2 separate regions of the Homo sapiens genome follow, and region 1 is linked to region 2. The links are contacts of gene promoters, found by promoter capture Hi-C in blood cells and fetal thymus (Javierre and others, 2016). All regions are on one chromosome and are shown on one strand. Each heading gives the region's core, a stretch centred on a gene start or on the middle of the fragment in contact. The rest is flanking DNA. Distances are from core to core; before and after follow the strand shown. Region 1 overlaps CIAPIN1 (cytokine induced apoptosis inhibitor 1). Region 2 holds the start of PLLP (plasmolipin).

What was found. Contacts are between HindIII fragments. The CHiCAGO score rates a contact against its expected background, and 5 or more counts as called.
Region 1: a fragment that was not itself captured here is called in contact with the fragment with the promoter of PLLP in region 2 in 1 of 17 cell types (naive CD4 T cells); the score reaches 5.1 in naive CD4 T cells.

What each region holds. Positions count from the first base shown.
Region 1 is chr16:57,430,881-57,433,580 of GRCh38, reverse strand. It overlaps CIAPIN1 (cytokine induced apoptosis inhibitor 1), which reads left to right. Exons shown (of 9, transcript NM_020313.4): 6 at 1,021-1,094; 7 at 2,315-2,430. Among named protein-coding and RNA genes, the nearest start is that of CIAPIN1, 15 kb to the left of the region's middle. The HindIII fragment of the contact is 3,500 bases long and covers 1-2,700 here.
Region 2 is chr16:57,283,356-57,286,055 of GRCh38, reverse strand. PLLP (plasmolipin) reads left to right here and starts at 1,384. Exons shown (of 4, transcript NM_015993.3): 1 at 1,384-1,650. The coding sequence starts at 1,516. RefSeq lists a silencer at 1,191-1,600 and an enhancer at 1,645-2,306. The HindIII fragment of the contact is 12,639 bases long and covers 1-2,700 here.

The sequences.
Region 1 (2,700 bases), core at 9-2,508, 150 kb before region 2:
AATTGTGTACAAGCACACGCGTGCACGCACGCGCACGCACACACACACACACACACAGCTCCATCCTCATCCTTCCTATCCCTATTTTTAAATGCCTGAATTGACCCAGCTGTGAGGTATGCAGACATTAACAGATATTTACTGGTACATTCCCACTTGTACGGTTTTGACTGTCTAACCTAAATCTTCAAGAAATCCTTTGGAATCTAACCTTTCGATTCATGGTTCCAGAATGGGTAGGAATAGCTTAGAACAGTTGGCCTTGTGGAAGGTATGAGCATCCAGCTGTGACAATGATCACTAGAGGGTACTCTTACCCCAAGGGCCTGCGAGGATTTGCCCACACTGCATCCGAGCCTCAGCTCTCTGCCTCTTCCTTGCATTCTCCTGACTAGACAGAGAACCAGGAAGTGTGAGGTTTGTCTGCCACTGATGGTGTTACCTTGCCACCAGCAGCTCTAGAGCCTATTTTCTTGTATGTAGCAGGTTTACATGAGGCTAAAGCTCTGCTATTTTTGAAGGTTTTGACACATTTCTCATTTAATCCTCAAAACACCTGCAGTAACATAGGAAGTACAATTTAACTTCATGTTATAGAATGGAAACTAAGGTATCGAGGAGGAAGCAATATGGAATGGAGGTTAAAAGCATCAGACAGGCTTTGCAGCCTGTGGAACCAGCCTAAGTGTCTAAACCTGTTTCCTCAGCGGTAAAAGTAGGATGACAGATAGTTACCTCATAAGGTTGTCAGCAGAATTAAGTTAGATAATGTATATAAGTGCTTAATATGGTGCCTGGTGCAAAGCAAGAGCTTAGCAAATGGTGACTTCTGTAACTATCAGCAAGTGGTTGGCCCAAGGTCAGACCTCTCAGAGGGGTAGAGCTGGACTGTGAACCCACATCTTCTGCCTCCCAGGCCAGTGTGTTCTCTTCTACACAGCAGGAAGCATTTATGTATGTTTGTAATTAATAGTTTCTGACTGTGTTTATGGAGTTTTTTCTTTTATTGCTTGGACTCAGTGAAACCTGCTGTGGACCCTGCTGCTGCCAAGCTGTGGACCCTCTCAGCCAACGATATGGAGGACGACAGCATGGTGAGCTGGCAGCATTGTCACTTGATTGCTTTCTTTCAGGCCCCAGTTTGGGTGTGAACAGCTATAGTGACCTTTCTGGACTTGTAGGTGTGAACGTATTTAAAGCCCAGATTTGTGACTATGCCTGTCACATCTTTGATTTAGAAGGAAACTCCATGTTGGTGGCTTTTTTTTTGGAGACAGTCTCGCTCTCTTGCCCAAGCTGGAGTGCAATGGCACAATCTCGGCTTACTGCAATCTCTGCTCCCGGGTTCAAGCGATTCTCATGTTTCAGCCTCCCAAGTAGCTATGATTACAGGCATGTGCCACCACACCTGGCCAATTTTTGCGTTTTTAGCAGAGACGGGGTTTCACCATGTTGGCCAGACTGGTCGCAAAACTCCTGACCTCAAGTGATCTGCCCGCCTCGGCCTCCCAAAGTGCTGGGATTACAGGTGTGAGCCACTGCGCTTGGCCATGTTGGTGGCATTTTAAATTTTTTAGCATCTCTTTTTCCCCACATAATTTCTTGTTCTCACTTCATACGATATGTTGAAAACTCTTGTGGGCATGTGTAAACCTGAAAAGATTTTGTCAGCTTAAATAGTTTTATTGGCACCTTTGGGCAAGTTGCTGACTGTTCCATGCTTTAAAAAGCACTATTTTCTATCTTTGGCCATGTCTGTAATAAAGTTCTTCATTTCTACACCTCTACTATTGAAGTTAGAGTAGTGAGCAAAATAAGTGAGGTTCATGCTCTCATAGGGTTTACAGACTAAGTGTCTACACATTTACAAAGAATTACATAAAGGTATATATAATTATTTGATTTTTATCTGGGATTATGTAAAAGATATTTTATTCCCTTTTTCACGTGACTCTTCATAAACACTTCTCTCTTTCTCTGTTCTGCCTGTTCCCTCCCTTCTCCCCACTCCTGCCCCCAACCCCCAACATGTGTATATTCTCTACACATTGCTGGCCAGTCATACAGCTTTTTCTCATGTAAATTTGTTTCTAATTCCTTTGCATCCTAGTGCATCTTCTGTGGATGTAGTTTAACTCACCGTTGGCCTCTTGAGCATGTGGTCAGGTTGAACATGATGATCAACCAAAAGGAGGACAGGGTGGACACCTTCTTTACCCTGGACTCCAAGTTTCCTCTCGAAGCCTGCAGTCACTTTAGCTTTTCATTAGCAGAGACCACGACTGTATCACTCATTGCTTTGAACACTCTCCAGGATCTCATTGACTCAGATGAGCTGCTGGATCCAGAAGATTTGAAGAAGCCAGATCCAGCTTCCCTGCGGGCTGCTTCTTGTGGGGAAGGGAAAAAGAGGAAGGCCTGTAAGAACTGGTGAGTGCTGGGGTGACTGGAGCCTGCCATGCTGCCTCCAGTGGCTTCATGCTGAAGACATCGCGGTGCTGTACTATTTTTAGAACATACATTTTCCAGGCTGGGCAACACAGGGAGACCATCTCTGCAAATAATTAAAAAAAAAAAAAAATTAGCCAGGCATGGTGGTATGTACCTGTGGTCCCAGCTACTTGGGAGGCAAAGGCAGGAGGATCACTTGAGCCTGGGAGGTCGAGGCTGCAGTGAGCCGTAATTGTGCCATGTATCTAA
Region 2 (2,700 bases), core at 135-2,634:
CCTGCCTTGGCCTCCCAAAGTGCTGGGATTATAGGCGTGAGCCACAGCGCCTGGCCCTAATATTGTATATTTCAAAATATGGTAGCTAGAAGTGGGGATTTTGAATGTTCTCACCCCAAAGAAGCCATAAATGTATGAGGTGATGGATATGCTAAGTACCTTGATTTGATTTTTTTACACAACGTACACAGGTACCAAAACATCACATGGTACCCCATATTTAGGTACAATTATAGGTTGCCGAAAAAGTAATTGCGGTTTTTGCTATACTTTTATATGCAAAAACCGTATAACTTTTGCACCAACCTAATATTACATGTCAGTTAAAAACAATTTTTTAAGTGGCTCTCTTTTTAAGTGGGTATTTGGGAAAAAAAAAATGTGGGAGCCAAGAAGGCCTTGTCTACTTCGTTTCCTGCTGTATCCACAGGGCCTGGCATGTAGTAGGTGTTCAGCAAACATTGGTTGATGAATGCATGATGACCTATCTGTGCAAACCTCTAGGCTCAAGAGGTGTGTGTGTGTGTGTAAGTATTTTAGGGTGCATGTGTGGCAATGAAACTGTATATGACCTCCCATCTTCTGAGTGACCCCTCCTCCCTCACGCTGTCAGGAGCTTTCTGGGGAATATTTCATTTATTCCCTACAACGCTCTGTGAGGCAGGTTTCCTTCGTATCTATATGACAGACGAGGAAACTGAGGCTCCGCGATCATCTAAGTTATATAAAATATGTTCAGAAGTGAAAACAGCATTAATAGGCAGAAAAGGACCTCCCCCTTCTACCGCTTACCCACCGCTTACCCAGACCCTCCCCTTCCCCGCGCTGGGTCTCCCAGGATTCTTCTTTACTTTCTTTTCTATAAAATACAGACGGGGGGAGGGGGGGCGTCTCACTGTGTTACCCAGGCTGGTCTCGAACTCTTGGCCTGAAATTATCCTTTCACCTTAGCCTCCCAAAGTGCTGCGATCAGAGGCAGGAGCCACCGCATCCAGCCTTCTCCCGGGACTCTTCAAGAGTCGCTGCGCCGGGGCCTAGGCCGAGGGTGCACAGCGCGTAGAAAGCGCCTGGGAGAGCGGTGTCCCCCGCGAGCTACCACAAGTTTATCCCTAGGCGCGGAAGCTACCACGGCCTGGGCGAGAGCCGGGAAATTCCCAGCGGGCGGCTTGCCCCGGGGGAGGCCGGCGAAGCGGTCTAGGCTGGTGCTGGCGGAGCCGATTCACGGACCCGGGGTTGTTTACTGGTCCGGGGAGTGGACGCGGCTGCCCACGAACCGGTCGCGGCTGGGGCGGCGGCGGCGAGCAAAGGGTTAAGGGGGCGGCCCCGGCGGCGGGGGCGGAGCCGGGATCTCGGCCGCACCTGGCGCCCCAGGCTCCCAGCCCCGACGCCTCCTGCAGCGCCTGGAGCCACACAGGGATCCGGAGCCTGGGGGAAAAGCGGCGCGGGAGCCGGCACCCACCGCTGGAGGGGCGGCGACGGCGGCCGTAGCGACCTCGGGAGGCAAGCGGAGCCGCCATGGCCGAGTTCCCGTCGAAAGTTAGCACGCGGACCAGCAGTCCTGCGCAGGGCGCCGAAGCCTCGGTGTCGGCGCTGCGCCCGGACCTGGGCTTCGTGCGCTCCCGCCTCGGGGCGCTCATGCTGCTGCAGCTGGTGAGAGCACGCGCGGGCCCACGGGGTTGGCCGGGGGCTCCCGGTCCGGCCAGGATGGGTGAGGGACTCCGGCGCTGCGTTCATTTTTCGCGAACCTTGCGCTCCCCACCCGGGCTCACACTGTCACCGACGCGCTGCGCGTACCCCTAGGGCGCTTCCCGCACGGACGCCCCCAAGATCGCCCTGCATCCCTCTCACCACGACACTACCCCGTGGCCGTCGCTGCGAGCGTGAGCACCCTGCACCGTGTACAGAGTGCCCACTGCCCGTGCCCCATCGTGCCCCCTCCAAGGTGGTTACCAGCGGCCACAGAAGCCCCCACCGGAGCCACAGTCACTGCGCACAACCCGCCAACCCTTCCCAGCCCTCCCTTCCCTCCTCTCTCTTTTTCACCCCTCTTTCTGCCCGGACAGTGCCCCCAGCCCTCTAGGGAACCCAGTCTGAGGCAAAGTCCACTCTCTGACCACCTTCTGTCCCGCTCCCAGCGGCTCCGGGTGGCCGCACCCATGAACATTCCTCATCTAATCTAGAGGGCACATCCGACTCCCCAACACGCACACTCAGGCACTACCCTGTGGGCGCCCGCGCGGGAGCCGGGCTCTTCTAGCTTTCTCTGGGTGACCCGCCAGGTTTCAGCCGGTTTAGCCAGCCCCACGGGACCGAGATATCGCTGGAGGGAGGGGTTTGTGGGTAGCCAGGGGCAAGACTCCTACTCTCTCCCAGACCCCTGTACAGACCCCAACTGAGGCGGACCCATGGGAACATCCTCCACTCCCACACCAGCCACAGGCCCGGATGTTAGCTTCTTCCTCTGCCACCCTTTCGTGAGGGTCTGGAAGCTGGGTGGGTGCCCTGGGTGGGTGAGGGCCTGATACATTTTCAGAGGACTCAGGTGGAATTGGAGTTGGGCCAGGACCTGTATTTCTTAGCAATCCAGCGAGTGGACATTTCCCATTGTCTCCTATTGCTGGGTGCTAGCGCTGCTGCGAGGCCCAAGCTAGAGGGCAGGGTGGTTGCTTTGGTGCCAGACCCTGGGCTGAGGTCCAGTCT